2 separate regions of the Homo sapiens genome follow, and region 2 is linked to region 1. The links are contacts of gene promoters, found by promoter capture Hi-C in human tissues and cell types (Jung and others, 2019). All regions are on one chromosome and are shown on one strand. The core of a region is centred on a gene start or on the middle of the fragment in contact, and the rest is flanking DNA. Distances in the headings are between cores, read along the strand shown. Region 1 holds the start of DSC3 (desmocollin 3). Region 2 overlaps DSC2 (desmocollin 2).

The links. The method cuts DNA at HindIII sites, captures the fragments that hold promoters and counts their contacts. A contact is called where the count stands out against the background at its distance.
Region 2: a contact is called between a fragment that was not itself captured here and the fragment with the promoter of DSC3 in region 1, in 2 of the 25 tissues and cell types used here (H1 embryonic stem cells and mesenchymal stem cells).

Annotation. Positions count from the first base shown.
Region 1 is chr18:31,039,177-31,046,902 of GRCh38, reverse strand. It overlaps DSC3 (desmocollin 3), which reads left to right and starts at 4,161. Exons shown (of 16, transcript NM_001941.5): 1 at 4,161-4,311. The coding sequence starts at 4,243. LOC124904345 (a long non-coding RNA gene) reads right to left here and starts at 5,370. Exons shown (of 2, transcript XR_007066445.1): 1 at 5,069-5,370; 2 at 1,677-4,461. The HindIII fragment of the contact is 2,576 bases long and covers 2,970-5,545 here.
Region 2 is chr18:31,074,153-31,081,878 of GRCh38, reverse strand. DSC2 (desmocollin 2) reads left to right here. Exons shown (of 16, transcript NM_024422.6): 10 at 1,527-1,783; 11 at 1,890-2,032; 12 at 6,972-7,196. Among named protein-coding and RNA genes, the nearest start is that of DSCAS, 24 kb to the left of the region's middle. The HindIII fragment of the contact is 4,053 bases long and covers 2,286-6,338 here.

The sequences.
Region 1 (7,726 bases), core at 2,912-5,411:
TTAGTTGCTATAAGAAGTTATCACTCACACAATAGGGTTTTGTCTTTTGTGTGGAAATTACCATTCCTTCCAGCCAGTGGGAAGTTACTGGAAGATTGCTCCTCCCTCCTTAAAAGGACTGGTTGAAGAAGAGGATATTTGTAAAGGAGTCTGAAGATTTTAGTGGAGGAAGAGTAACCCCATTGTAAGAGATCTTGACTCATTAATTAACAAGGAGATACTGGAAGGGAACTTTTCTGAGCTTGGCACACCCTATTTGGATTAAACTATTGTAATAGTGTTACTTAGACTGGATAATGCTGAATTTGAGAAATGTACAAATGTCCGACTTTTGAATGATTGTTGCCAAGGTTATAGTGAAAGGTCACATTTCTGTGGATGGGCGTGAGCTTTCTCCTGAGAGGAAGGGATAGTCCTACTGTCAGTCATTCTGGGGAGATATGAATCCTAGGATGAGAAGTGAGGACGTGAGGAGACCCACAGCAGAACAGGGGGAAGGGGAAATGTCCTTGGAGGCCAAGGGTCATTTGGATCTAGAGTTGAGGTCCTCATTGCTGTGTGGAGTAGCATTCTCATTGGATTGAAATTAGCACCAAGTGCTAATTAGGTGCTTGCCATGGGTAAATAGGTGAGAAGGAGGCACATAGGGATTCTGGGACGGCTCTGGTAGTGGGCAGCAATGCGATATTTATAATTGACTTTTGACTTAAACCTTCTGTTATCCTCAAGGCCCCAGCAGTCTTTTGAAATGACCAAAATGTGGTGGCTGTTCTCAATAGTGCTCTGGGAAATCTGCAGAACCTCTAGTCACACTGCGGCTATTTATCCTAAATAATATTCCAAACATGCTTCTGAGTTCATGTCCCATGGCGGAACTCATTTTTGTGCCACAGGTGTAAACAAATCTTTTACTTGTTTTTAATTCAAGCTTTTTTTTTCATAAATTCCTCTGCTCTTTCTCGTAAGTTTGTCTCAAACATTGTACAGTTGTCCTGGCGGTATTTCGTAGGAGTGTTTGAGGAAACCTACAGTTGCCATGTCACCGTCCAGGTAAGCCACTGAGATGAGTAGGTGTGTTAGACTAGCACCTGTTGGTGCTGAGTTGTGCAAGGCAGCCTGGCTCGTGGGCCAGAGGTCAGGTCCCACCTCCTAAGACTAGTTAGCTCTTCCGTAGTCAGAGATTTCTCATAGGTCCAGAGTAAGAGTACTCTTCTTCATTATCTTGTTTGCTTTCTGCTGAAAATGTTGCAATTCACCTGAATTTCTGAAGTTTTGTTCTTTAGTCTAAAGTCAATTCCCATTTTTGATCCTTTGTTATTGCTGCTCTTACCCTTCAAACTAAGAACATAACAAGGGAAAATAATAAATTATTTTCCCATTTTGGCTCATTATCCTTTTAGCAGTGACTTCCAACTGACTTTGCAGTTTGAGGGATAGGGTATTAAGATAAAGACAGTTCAGAAAACTCTTTATGCTTTATGATACCTCATGATGATTTAAAATTAATTTTATAATAGAAAGCATCCAGTTCTAACTATATCTAAACTGAAGCTCATATTTGAAAAAAAATCAACAAACTATTTTAAATCATAATTTATATGGGAAAATATAAGCAAAAAATATAAGCAATTTAATTTATCCTCAAGTCATATTTATGTTGTAAAGATTCTTCTTTATATGATAAAAATGCATTGCTTTTTATTAGGACTTAGATTAATATACTCATGGTGGACAAACAGGAAATTCCAAAATCATTACTAATACTACATTCAGTTATTAATGTTCGTATTGCACCTAGAATTTTGCAATACAAGTTAAAAATATCCATAATATGTTTTCTTCGAGTTTTTCTAAAGCAGATTCCTACAACTTTTATTTTGCGGAAGCTAAAAATGGAAGCTCACAGCAATTGTCATATTAGTCAGTAGGCTTAACAATAAATATCCTCTATTACACAGCACAGTCAAAATAATCAGGGGATAGCAATTTTAGAGTTTTAGTCTTTCAAAGGACAGTCCTAACCAGGCCAGACTCTCATAAATCTGAAGATAGAGTTGAAATCATAGAAAAACTAAGAATAGTTAGAATAAAGACAAACACTTCAAAGTCTTTCATTCCCTAGGTATTAAAGAAAGCCATATTACAGCACAAATGGGTTCATATGTGCAAACTCACCAAAAGTGACAATTTTGTAACAGTAGTTACTAACCCTTTTCACACATTGAATGGATGGTTCTCCATTTCTGTCAGGATGAAATTAAATTCCTCAGCATGGTTTGTCATGAACCATCTTTCTAACCGAATTCCCAGCCATTGCATGTAACCATTCTGAACCAACCCCTTTCTGCTTTCTTACCCTGGGGCACTCTCACAAGGCTCTCCAGAGCTTCTCATGTCCTGTTGATGTTGTGTTATCTTGAAGCATTCTCCTACCCTTTCCCTTTTCTTTGCTGGGCTTATCGCAACATTTTGCTTCTTCAAAGCTTTCTTCAGCTAAGTTAGATCCTCTCCTCTAAAATGCCTTAACACCTCAACCCTTCACTCTAACAGTGAATTCAAAGTGGTGAGGGAGGGAGATTGGTGCTAGCCATCTCCTTTACTCATCTAAGTTCAAGAAAACCATTCTACTTGAGTTTCTGAGGGCTGGGGGGCTGGAAGTGACTTTGAGAAGCTTTCTCTGAGGTCATGCTGGAGGCACGTGGAGGATGGGAGGTGAAAACCCTGGAGTGGAGAGAAGTTTGGAGAACTTTCTCTGAGACTGGAAGAGCTCTTACATACAGAGACCTCCACTGACGGGTGCCTGGGAGATTCACACTGGGAAGCTCAACTTAGAGTGTCTGAGCCCTTAAAGCTGAGCCTCATGAGTTTCAGGGAAGCCCCAGACTTCAGGGAATACATGGCTTAGACGACGAGGAGTCTATTAGACTTGAGCCAGAGTGAGATGAATGAAGGTCATAACACCCTTTCATGATTAATTGGCTGTCTGAAATTCCCGACCTTGCAACTTTTGAATGGACTTCGAGGAGTAGCATCTCATGTCTGAGAGGGATTTCCTCCTGAATCCAGTAGATGGGAACTCGGGGAACTTAAAATTCAGTTTAGGGAGAAATAAGAGGATGTCCCCCTGGTGTTACAAACGACATCTCTATTAAAAAGTGTAGCCTACTGGGCTAGGAATGATTGTCTTTCGTCCCTTTCTGACTTTGAATTATTTCCGACAGGAACTAGATTTTCTGCATTTCCTTTCTTCCATGCCCTCACACAAAGCTTGGCCGACTTCGGGCCCTGATAAATAGTCGTTGCATGATGTAGAATCTGTAAGCCTCGTTTTAGAAGGTTTTGTGTGGTAGATATTCCTTTGACCACCTGAAAAATTTCATTTTGGTACCAGTAAGTAGTAAACCAATAATTCACATCTAAGAACAAAGTCGTTTTTAGAAGGTTCATATGAGTCCCCCAAACTGACAGTTAATAGAGCGCTGAGTGTAATCACTCATATTTTGGGTGCGTAAAAATGGTTAGATTAGAATTTCTTAAATTTGGTTTTAATTTCTGACATGCCAAAAACTGTTTATCATGCCATCTGGGATAAATTCCTTCTGTCGTGTATTTTGTCATGTTAGTCAAATCCGGAGAGAATACAGTACATGTATTTTGCTTTAATCTGAAAACATTGGCAGAATTTGTTCAGACGTCGAAGGGGAGATCCGCTGATCCAATGACAAGGGTGTTCCTGGCATCCAGCAGAGCCCGTGTCGAGGCAGGGATCCCTGCGGGCGGATTGGGGTTCTGCATTGAGATGCACCGCGCAGCGCCGGCGATGGGGCCGCCCTGGGACGATCTGGGCTGCCAGGGCCTCTCTGCGGGCCGGGCGGGGCGGCAGCGCCGCGGGGCAGCCGAGGGGCGTGGGAGAACTGGCAGAGGGTGCGCCAGAGACCGCTTTCCCGAGCGCGAACGCCCGGGTGGCTGCTGGGGAGCAGAGGGGCAGGCTCGGGCAGCTCCTCAGCCGCGCCGGCGATGATAAAACTTGAGAAATAACAAGGAGTGGCCTCTCCGCGTCCTCTGGGTCCAATCCGGTTTCAGAAGTGAAGTTGCTCCCGGGCAGGCAAGCCTGAGAGAGGCCAAATACACTTAAAAACAAGCAGCGGCGAGAAAAGCACCTCCCGCGCCCTGCACCTCGGCAGGTCTCGCTCTCGGCACCCTCCCGGCGCCCGCGTTCTCCTGGCCCTGCCCGGCATCCCGATGGCCGCCGCTGGGCCCCGGCGCTCCGTGCGCGGAGCCGTCTGCCTGCATCTGCTGCTGACCCTCGTGGTAAGCCAGATCTCGCCGGATAGGGCTGGGGTGGGGACGGGGGTGGATCCGCCCTGGACGCTGCACGGAGCTGGGGACAAAGCGGGCCGAAACGTGACAACCGCGGCTCAGATCAATGCTGCGGGTCTGGTAGCAGCCCCAAGTTCGGGCCTGCAGGAGTGAGGAGAGAAAACGTGTGTTTGCGGGTCGACTCTGGACTGAGCTTTTTGTTTTGAGACAAGGTGTTCGATTGTTGGAATTCTGAGTCGCGCTCAGGCTTCGCTGCGCTCTGGCGGGCGCCGTCGCGGGTTGGGCAGGGGGTTGGGATTCACGCTTCTCCCCAGGTGGTGGAGCTGGTGGTGATGGTGGTTGGAGGGCGCCTTTGGGTGGAGAGGATCCCTGAGAGCTCAAAGCACAGACTTGAAAAGGGATTTAGGGGCTGCCCCCTCCCCAGCTCTGGGTCGCAGTTGACCCGGATTGGTTCGTTAGTGAGTGGAGCCGGGGCTGTGTCCCTGGGTCCCTTGGTGGGGCTGCCCCTGAGAAGTGGGTTTCTCGGTATCTCCCCTAAAGGGTATTCAGAAGCTCACCCAAGCGGTCCACCCCCGCCAGCCACCCAGCTGGGGGCGGGATGTGCCGGGGGCGCGAAAGTGTGGGAAGACCGGGCCAGAATGGGGGTTGGGGTCGTGTTGTGTTTTGGGGATGCTGCCGAGGTGTGGAGGCGGGTAGAGGGTGACAGTGGTGGGGGATGATGGATGCGGTGGGGTTGCGTCGTACTTACTCCGGCTCCGGGGAGGACTGCGCGGCCGGAGCACAGCCTGGGGTTTCGAGTCTACGGAAACCTGCCGCCCAGGACGAAATCCTCTAGGAGAGGAAGTTAGAGACGATGCTCTGAGAACACGGGAGACTTGAAGTGTTCGGAACTCTGGCGGCGCGGTTACACGCGAAGCTTCAGGCTTCAACAGAGTTTCATTCCGCACGCCCAGAAAGGAGCCGCGGACCCGCGACTTACCCGCATCCATGGATGCGCATGGGGTCCGATGGGAGCGAGGTCTATACCCGCGTCGGCAGTGAGCCGAGTCTGGTCTCGCGGATTCTTACTGCTTCCTGGCCCTCCACCCTGGCAAGTGGGAGTGGGTCCAAGGGTTGTCCTCCCTTAAGGTCAGCGAGGTATGAATATGGGATTGGTAGTTATGATCTACGATATGTTTATGGAGAAGGAATTGGACAAATAAGCGCATCCATTTGCCCGGGAACTGTTCCAACAAAGTATCTGAGCTTATGAAGTGACTACAAATGGAAACGGCTTAGAGAATGTGTTCTTTTGTAATATATTTAAAAGCATTTTCAGCTTTTCAGTTTACAAGCATGCATTTGGGGTTTTGTGTTTCCTTTGCGAAGGGATTGAGGATGGGGAACGAAACTACGGGTGCTGCTCTCAGAATTTCTCGCATTCGCTCGAGGCTCCCAGAGGCCATGGAAGACCAGGAGCTTTCCCGGCAAGGCATGGGTGGGGGTGTCGAGCTGTGGCAAGGAAGAAGGTGCGCGTAAATCTAAACGGAGGAAGCTTCAGCTTTGATCTAGCACATACTCGTTTAAGATTTTTTTTTTTTAAAATAATTCCGTTGAGTTTAGGTTAAATGCTGTATCTGGAGACTTAAATACCGGAAAGTGCACAGAAAATGACTATTTCATCTGCAATTGTCAGTTTACAAACACTTGCAATTTCGGACCGGATGGGTAAATTAACACTTCTCTTGACCATCTCATGTATGTATTTCCTTCCTTTTGACTCATACGACTCTCAACTTTTCAATATAATATTAATGACACGGCATTTTAGAAACATTTTTCATTTTATAGAGACTTTAATGGATATCTTTAAACCATTACTTATCTTTAAAACATTGTTTGTTCTAAGGAGACAGCTTTTCAAAGCAAGTCTTTAACAAGAATCTGAGACTTGTTAAATTTTAGTCTTCCCAGTAAGCAGCCCAACAGGTTGAGGGAATTTTCCCATTCTGCATTTTTCCTGTATCTCCTTCCCACCGTGTGCCCCACCACACTCTGAAGTGTAAATACAGTTTCTAATAATCACACGCACAAAGAAAAAAATGACAGGGAGATACTAAAAAAAGAAGTATATCAGAGCATCTCACTCACTATTGTAAGTTTTTGATTGCCTCAGAAAGTGTTTTTTCCTCTTAATGTAACCAGAATTGTTAGGGATGGTGGAAACTAATTTACATGAGATCAGTTGTCTTCTGCCTGTTACAAATAATAAGATTCTTTTAAAAATATGTGTTAATACTGTTATCAAATCCACTTTAAGATTATGTTATCTAGTATACATTATAAATGGCACATACTTGGACACGGCTAATCCATCATTTTGTTAAAAGGGCTCCTCTTCTAAAGGAACTAAAATAGTTGAAACGTTTGCAATAACTCCCCTCAAATCTGTACTTTTCCTCTTTGGAGTATATGAACTCTGCCTGCAACCTATGTTGATAAATAGGCATCCAAATTTTTATATTTGTTAGGGTTAATGTGAATAATGTGAGTCCTTACCAGAAAAACTTGTGATGTTTTTGCTCTTGGTAATATTTGATATATTCATCATTTTAAATTAAAAGGGAGTATAGTAATTTCTAAAGGCTTTTACATTTGTGACAAGAAGATTAAGGCAAATAAAGGAAGTAGATGAAAACTAGTTTTAAAACTGCAAGCTTAAAAAAGTCAAAATTATAGTATACGTATATTTAGATTGATGCATTATCAGCTACCTTATTAAAAGGAGATTGTTGATGTTCCTGTTGAGATACAGCTAGATACGGAAGCACGTTCTGAATAAATAAATGTAAGCTCATGCACATTTTTGGATCCTGTTGTAATTCCCATGGCAGTCCTGTACCATATATGGTATCTGTGGTGACCTGTAGTTAATCATACTTTCCGCTGAAAGTATGATAGCTGGAATTCCCATCTTACAATGAGTTTGGGTGGAAACAAATTTATTAGACTCATTTAAGTACTGAGAATGTAGAGCAGTAAATCTTGCAATTTACCTTTGAAGTGGTAAGAATTTGAAAGGTAATATTTCCATTCTGCAGAAGACTTATGGCCACAGGAGAAATGAAGAGTTTAAAATTCTGTAATTATTGTGTTTAATCCAGAAGATCCTCTTCACATTTAAGACATTCCATAAATTTCCATTCTTTTTCTTCTCTACTGAAGTAGGGTGTCATTTTAGAAAGCCTACTTTGTGTATTTACTATAAAATTAAACAACAGCATGAAAGTGAAACAACTGCAGATAACACCTTTAATTTTCGTTCTCTCTTTGGCATTAAATTTTTCCATCAGGATTTAATGATTCGTCTGATAAGGTTTCTATCATGCAATTAATACAATTTGCTTAGTACTATAAAATGCAACAA
Region 2 (7,726 bases), core at 3,063-5,562, 35 kb before region 1:
CAAGAGTTACTCTTGGTCAGCCCCATGGAGAGGTTATTCATAGGTTTGTTCATCATATTCAGTATATATTACATCCTTAGCATCCAGGTTCAGAATGAAAATCCTCAGTGATTCAACAATGCAAACACTTCTAAAACTTCTTTCTAATACTATTTCAGCAGCCAGAGTTAGTGCATAAAGCAATCTGAGCTCCTTTAGCCTTGGACAAATTTATAGACTTATTTCTGCTGCATCTTTAACCAGAACATGGTTTTACAGTGGGTCTATGCCGTTTTCTTTTTGTATATATTCACAAGGACCATGGATTAAAAAATGATGAATCCATTTTCCTTACAATGATGAAAATCAGCTGCTGTTTTTATATTATTTTCTCTATTTTAAAATAGCAGAGAAATTTCCTTTAAATCTTGTCTCTTTCTTCACCTAACCCCTCCCCTAATCCTTGGTATTCTCAGAAGGAAATTTGTGTGAAGTCCAAGACCTGAAAAAATTTCTGTCTTCTAGGGCATGGTTTCACTAATTCTCATTACAACTACATATCAGGCAAGATAAAATAAAACCTTTTATTAAATATGTTCCCGTCTTTAAGACAGGAACTGGAATGGAAGACACACATAAAAAAAGAAAATATGATGCCCATAAGCTTTGTATTTTCTTGTCTTGCTCCTCTTAAAAGCATTTTAAAAAAATTTACCCATTTTTTTCTCTTCCTCATACCAGGTACAAATAATTTTATTCATCTTAGGAGGGTAAGACAAGCTGTCCTAAAATTTATTTTGTAGTAAATAACTATTGTTTATAGTATGAATCCCCTAAAGGAGTATCTCATGTATTAATATCCAAGAACCCTCATTAAATACTCTCTGAAATCTTCATCAATACCTGTTATACTACTTATCTTAAATTTGCAGTTGAAGAACAATTTTCTGTCCTTTTTTTTTTCCAGCTTTACCCAAGTACTGAATCAGTGGGAGAACTCCTCTGTCTCCACCACCACTGGGTTTCTGGGTGTATTAGTCTGTTCTCACATTGTTATAAAGAACTACCTGAGACTGGATAGTTTATAAACAAAAGAGGTTTAACTGACTCGCAGTTCCACAGGCTGTGTAGGAGGCATGACTAGGTAGGCCTCAGGAAACTTATAATCATGGCGGAAGGCAAAGGGGAAGCAAGCCCATCTTCACATGGCAACAGGAGAGACAGAGCAAAGGGGGATGTGCTACACACTTTTGAACAACCAGATCTTGTGAGAACTCACTCACTATCATGAGCAGTGGGGAAATCCACCCCCATGATCCAATCACCTTCCCTCAGGTCCCTCCCCCAACATTGGGAATTACAATTTGACATGAGATGTGGGTGGCGACACAGAGCCAAACCATATCACTGGATATATGTTTCATATTCTCGTGGTTATTCCCAACATGACACTTAACATATTTCCAAATTTAACATTATATATACTCGTTAGCATTGCCAAATATTAAATGAGTTCATCTGATTTTTCAATACATTTGCTTTCGTAGCCTTTGAATTATGAAGAAAAGCAACAGATGATCTTGCAAATTGGTGTAGTTAATGAAGCTCCATTTTCCAGAGAGGCTAGTCCAAGATCAGCCATGAGCACAGCAACAGTTACTGTTAATGTAGAAGATCAGGATGAGGGCCCTGAGTGTAACCCTCCAATACAGACTGTTCGCATGAAAGAAAATGCAGAAGTGGGAACAACAAGCAATGGATATAAAGCATATGACCCAGAAACAAGAAGTAGCAGTGGCATAAGGTACTTACCATTCTATTTTAGTTTTAAAATATATAGCTTATTTTGTTACGTTATTATAATTTAGCATATGATAAATTTTATTATTTTAATTCATCATTACCAACAGGTATAAGAAATTAACTGATCCAACAGGGTGGGTCACCATTGATGAAAATACAGGATCAATCAAAGTTTTCAGAAGCCTGGATAGAGAGGCAGAGACCATCAAAAATGGCATATATAATATTACAGTCCTTGCATCAGACCAAGGTAAGAATTTGTCTTTAAGCCAGCTACATACTTCCTTGGCTACATACATCTTCAGTGTTTAAGCCAACAGTATACATTTTAAAGCTGGATACATGCACTCTGTTTTCATATCTCTTGATAATATAAAGTAAGAGGTTTACTATAATTTATTAACTCATGTCTGCTTTCTAATAGCCTTCTCAGTTTTAGATGTAATTATAAAATAATTTACTCTTAGAAACACTTGAGACCATAATTTATTAAAGTTAAAATTATTAAAAATTGAGAAAATTATTTTAGTAAAACTTGTTTCAGCTGGGTGTGGTGGCTCATGCCTGTAATCCCAGCACTTTGGGAGGCTAAGGCTGGAGGATCACTTGAGGTCATGAGTTCGAGACCAGCCTGGCCAACATGGTGAAATCCCGTCTCTACCAAAAATATTAAAAATTAGCTGGGTGTAGTGGCATGCACCTGTAATCCGAGCTACTCGGGAGGCTGAGGCAGGAGAATTGCTTGAACCCAGGAGGTGGAGGTTGCAGTTAGCCAAGATCGCGCCACTGCACTCTAGCCTGGGCGACAGAGTAAGACTCTGTCTCAAAACAAAAACAAAAACAAAAACAAAACAAAAACAAAAACAAAACTTGTTTCAGTTTATCTACTTATTTCGCTTAAAGTGTTCACTTTGTAGGAAAGTGAGAACATACTTACATAGTGCAGTCCTGGAAAACATACTTACACAGTGCAGTCCTGGAAAACAGCTCTAACTTTTTACAGGAAGCTAACAATATACTTGGGGGTTAGAATTCTGATTAAAGACATTATATAAAAATAAATCATGGTATATTTATGATCATGGTAAATAAATAGTATATTATAAAATTAGAGAGACAAACACTATGAATTCATATAATCATATAAAATGTAAAATTATGTTCTGTGCATTCTATAAAATTGAGAGAAATATGAGTATGATGATTATTTATGAGACGCGTTTGGTGCATAAAATATAATTTCTATAACATGAATTTGAACTTTATGTCTTTGTAAAATAAATATGCTAAATATAACAAACAAATTATTATACTATAACTTGCAAAATTAGAATTTAGAAGTGATTTTGGAAGATGATTTATGTATTCCAGTTCTCTGTAAATTAATGAGAAATGACTCAGTTTGTTAAATTGCTGAAGTTGTAATCATTATTGATTTGTCTTTAACTAATTAAAGACTGTCCTTTAAGGCCTCAGATTCTCATGTCTTTTTGCCAAGAAATACTTGTTGGTCAAAGGCAAATGAAAAGAAAAAAAAAACATGAAACTCAACGGCACTTGGAAATAGTTTATTGACAGTTGAGATAAAAATTGCTGTCTGAAATTAGAAATTTTGCCTATAATTTTATTCTACATTCTCGTCTGTTGCAGAGGAGTTTAAGTGATTGAGAGATCAAATATTTGTTATGGAATTGAGATGGGGCACTGCTTATCATCATTGTGATATAGAATAAATGTGTAATGAGGCTGTTCGCATTCATTTCTTTTGAAGAGGGTGGGAGTCATTGTGTTACTCTGTGTGAGAGAACTGTGAATCAGTAATTCCACATGTGTTTACTTTGTGAATTGAATGAAATGAGATTATACAAAAGTGTGTCATTTTTTGAAAAACCTTTTTCTAAAATCTATACTGGCTAATTTCATTTGGGTTCTCCCTGCCACTCCCTAATGGAAACCTCTCCTCCCTCATGGATACTGCTGTCTTGGGCTGGTGCTCACTTCCTGCCTTCCTACATCTCCGCAGCAATTGCTTCCTCTTTTTAAAACTCTCTCTCAAGGCTTCTATGTCTAAACTTGCCCACACATTCCTGCATGCTTTCTGGTCTTAACTGCCTTCCCCTCTCCTAAACATATATATTTCTTAAGCTTTAAATTCAATTTATCTTTTCTTCTTAACTTCTTAATCTAAATTGTGTGGGCAGCTTTACCCAGAAATCACCTCTATCTAGTTGAGCTTGAGATTAATGTTTCTATTGTATTATTCCAGCTGTTAGAATGGGGTTACTTGCAACTATTTTAAAACATTTGACTGAAGAGCATCATGCACATAAAGCATGAAACCATGGATAGTGCACCTCATGTGACTTCATATTTGGAATTAGCCTTTGTCCATGTAGAATTATATTATTACTAGAAGATGAGCATTTTATGCTGACATTCCAATGAATAAAACAGTATGTATAACTCATCAGCATATGAAAAACAGCTATGAAACACAGTGGATTAGATATCTGAGGTCTTAAATGTTCTTCTATGACAGTATTAATCACAATGTGCAAAAAAAGATTGGAGTTTAATCAGTGAGCAACTGTAAACATCTACTGGAAGGAAATTGAAGCATTTATCCCAGTTGTAGAAGAGCAAGCACTATAGAGTTCAGTTTTTAAAGATAGCACAATTAACCAGATTCAATAGGTAAGGCATGTGCTCTCAATTGTGTGTGTGGACTCAAAGGGAAACAAATGTTCAAGACAACCAGCAGTCCCAATTTTCAGAGAGAGCAAGGTAACACCACATAGCATGAGAACAGGAGAAGTTGAGGGACAGAAATTATTCTGCTCTAATGAATAGAAACATATGCCAGATACATGAAATATATATTATCCACCTGCTTCCTTTTTCTAATGTAAATACTCTTTTTCAAAGTTGTCCAAAAATGGAAGGTAGTTGCGTTGTTTCCTGCTTCTCATTGTTTTCTCTCCTAGCTCTTTTTTCTTCTTGCTGAAGTACATCCTTTACTATATTTTTTTCAATTGTGGAATGTGAATTTTAAACTCTCTCAGTTTTGTTGTTCTGAAAAATATTTTAATATTGGCCTCATACTTAAGTGACACTTTGACTTGGTTTAAAATTCTGAGTCAACAGCTTCTTTCCCATGGCACTGTGCAGCTATTAACCCATTATCTTCTGGTATCTCTTCTTGCTGATGCTTCTTGTTCTGTCGATTAACGATTGTCCTTTTGTAGTTAATATATTTAGGTAGCTTTTATAGTACCCTAAATTGAGTTCTACAGTGTTAGTACAATGTGTATGCCGTGGATTTTTTTATATTTGTCTAGTTCTGCAGTCAGAAAATACTTTCAATCTGAAAAGCCATGTTTTTCTTTAATTCTGGAGTATTCTCAGCTATTAATCTCTTTAACTATTGCTTCTCTGCCATTCTGTCTATTCTCTTTTTTAGAATCCCTGGTAGGTAAATGTTGCTGTTTATTTTCTACTGGAATTTGAGCTGTAATTTCATTCTTGTTTAATTGGTTACCCCTCTTTATGTCTTTGAAGATTCTAAACATACCTGTTTCAGAGACGTCTTGGATAGAATGAATTAATCTTTTGACTGGTGCTTTTGTTGGTTTTCCTTCTTAGTGTTAATCTTGATTATTTGGGAATTTTAGTTTGCAGGCTTATATTAAATGAGAGGTGTTTGCTTTGCTTTCTGTTTTTGTTTTTTCCCTCTCTCCCACTTTGCCCATATTAACTACTAGTCTTGTAGTTGCCTTCACCTGCTCTTTCTCTGTGGCCCACGGTTTAGAACCAGTTCTTAACTTGGTGGCCTAGTGCTCCTGACCCATGATGACGCTGGCTCTATCACGAGTCTAGTTGCTGTGCTGCAGGTGCTCTGGCTGAGGTTGTGACTTCAGGGATGTGCTCGGAGATCTTCCCGAGCTTGGCAGCTTCATATAAGACACAGCCCCAGGCAGTGGATGGCACAGGGTTTTTAAATTCTGTTTTCCACCTGTAATGTCAAAAGCCTTCTTTTTAAACAGAAAGAATGAATGATTTAGAGACAGAACTCCTGGGTTTGTGTTCAGTTTCAGACTTCACAACTGCATTACTAATCTGTGGCGTGGGTCCATGGCTGTTTCATCTTTGAATCCCCCAGATTTTCCAGTGCAGTGCTTTATATAAAGTCGTCATCCTGTAAGTTTCTTTCTTTCTTTTCTTTTCTTTTCTTTCTTTTTTTCGTTTTGAGATGGAGTTTCACTTTTGTTGTCCAGGCTGGAGTGCAATGGTGTGATCTCCGCTCACTGCAACCTCCGCCTCCCGGGTTCAAGCGATTCTCTTGCCTCAACCTCCCGAGTAGCTGATATTATAGGCATGTGCCACCATGCCTGGCTAATTTTGTATTTTTAGTAGAGATAGGCTTTCTCCATGTTGGTCAGGCTGGTCTCGAACTCCTGACCTCAGGTGATCTGCCCACCTCGGCTTCCCAAAGTGCTGGGATTACAGGCGTGAGCCACTGTGCCCCGTCTATCCTGTAAGTTTCTATTGAATATACAGATAGATGAATTACTTAGGCTACAACCCACAGTGATTATTTCAGTTTTCAAGTAATTTTCTACTCCTGGAGTCTTCTGCCCTTTGAATATTCCCATGTACTATTTTTGTTACAATCTTTCAAATATGTAACTTCAGTTTCTTTGCTCCAAAACCTAAGTGCTACCTATTTATCCAACAAACTCTAAGCTCCCTAGTCTGGCTTTCAAAGACCCTTAGCTCCTGCTTCCATGTCAGTTTCTACCTGTCTACCTTCCCTGTCATTGTCTCCAGATCACGGGTGTGTATAACGTGCGTTTCCATCTCCTTGAATTTCCTTGTGCTTTTAAATATACCAGAAGTGTCCTCATTCATACTCTCTTCCTTCCTCTTCTCACAAATCAGCCAAAACTTGCCTCTAATAATAATTTAGCGAATGAATAAACACATCTTAATAGCAGTCATTGTTTGTACAACCCATATGAAAGTAATACTATTTTTCTTGTAACATTCCCTGAGGACATAGCTTGTGACTGCTTGTCATTGTAACTTCTACATTATAGGTGCTTAATAAATATTTTTCAATGTGTTCAGTGCATACTTTTGTGGTGAAAACTCAAAACATAGAAAAACTATTTTTATTTTCATTTTTCTAGGAGGGAGAACATGTACGGGGACACTGGGCATTATACTTCAAGACGTGAATGATAACAGCCCATTCATACCTAAAAAGACAGTGATCATCTGCAAACCCACCATGTCATCTGCGGAGATTGTTGCGGTTGATCCTGATGAGCCTATCCATGGCCCACCCTTTGACTTTAGTCTGGAGAGTTCTACTTCAGAAGTACAGAGAATGTGGAGACTGAAAGCAATTAATGGTATATATTTTTGAAAATTGCTTTGTCCTTTTCAACATCAGGATGTCTGCGATACTTTTTTTTTTTTGTATGAAATAGGAGAAAATTCACCATGTGGGAAACACCAATGAAAGTTTCTCAGTTTTTGTGTGTTGGGAGTAGGTCTCTCTAGTGTGTCTCTAATCCTATGCCGAGATTCCCTTAGGTGTGTTGTGAATTCTCCCTCCTACTCCAAACACACACACACACACACACACACACACACACACACACACACACACATTTTTTCTCTTTCTCTCTTTCTCTCTCTTAGACTTGGTCTAATGCAGTCATTTCCTAACTTGTGTACCTCTCACTGGCATAGATTTCTTTATAGTTTCCTGGGTCATAAGGGAGTCCTCATTTGTTACTGGTTGGCTCTCCAGAAAGCAGACCCTGAGGCAGGGCATCTCAAGCAGAATGATGACTAAGGAATTTGCTTGGGATCAGTAGCTTTGAAAGGAGGAGAAGTAGGATTGGGCAAAAAGAGAAGTCAAGCTGCAGCACAAGCC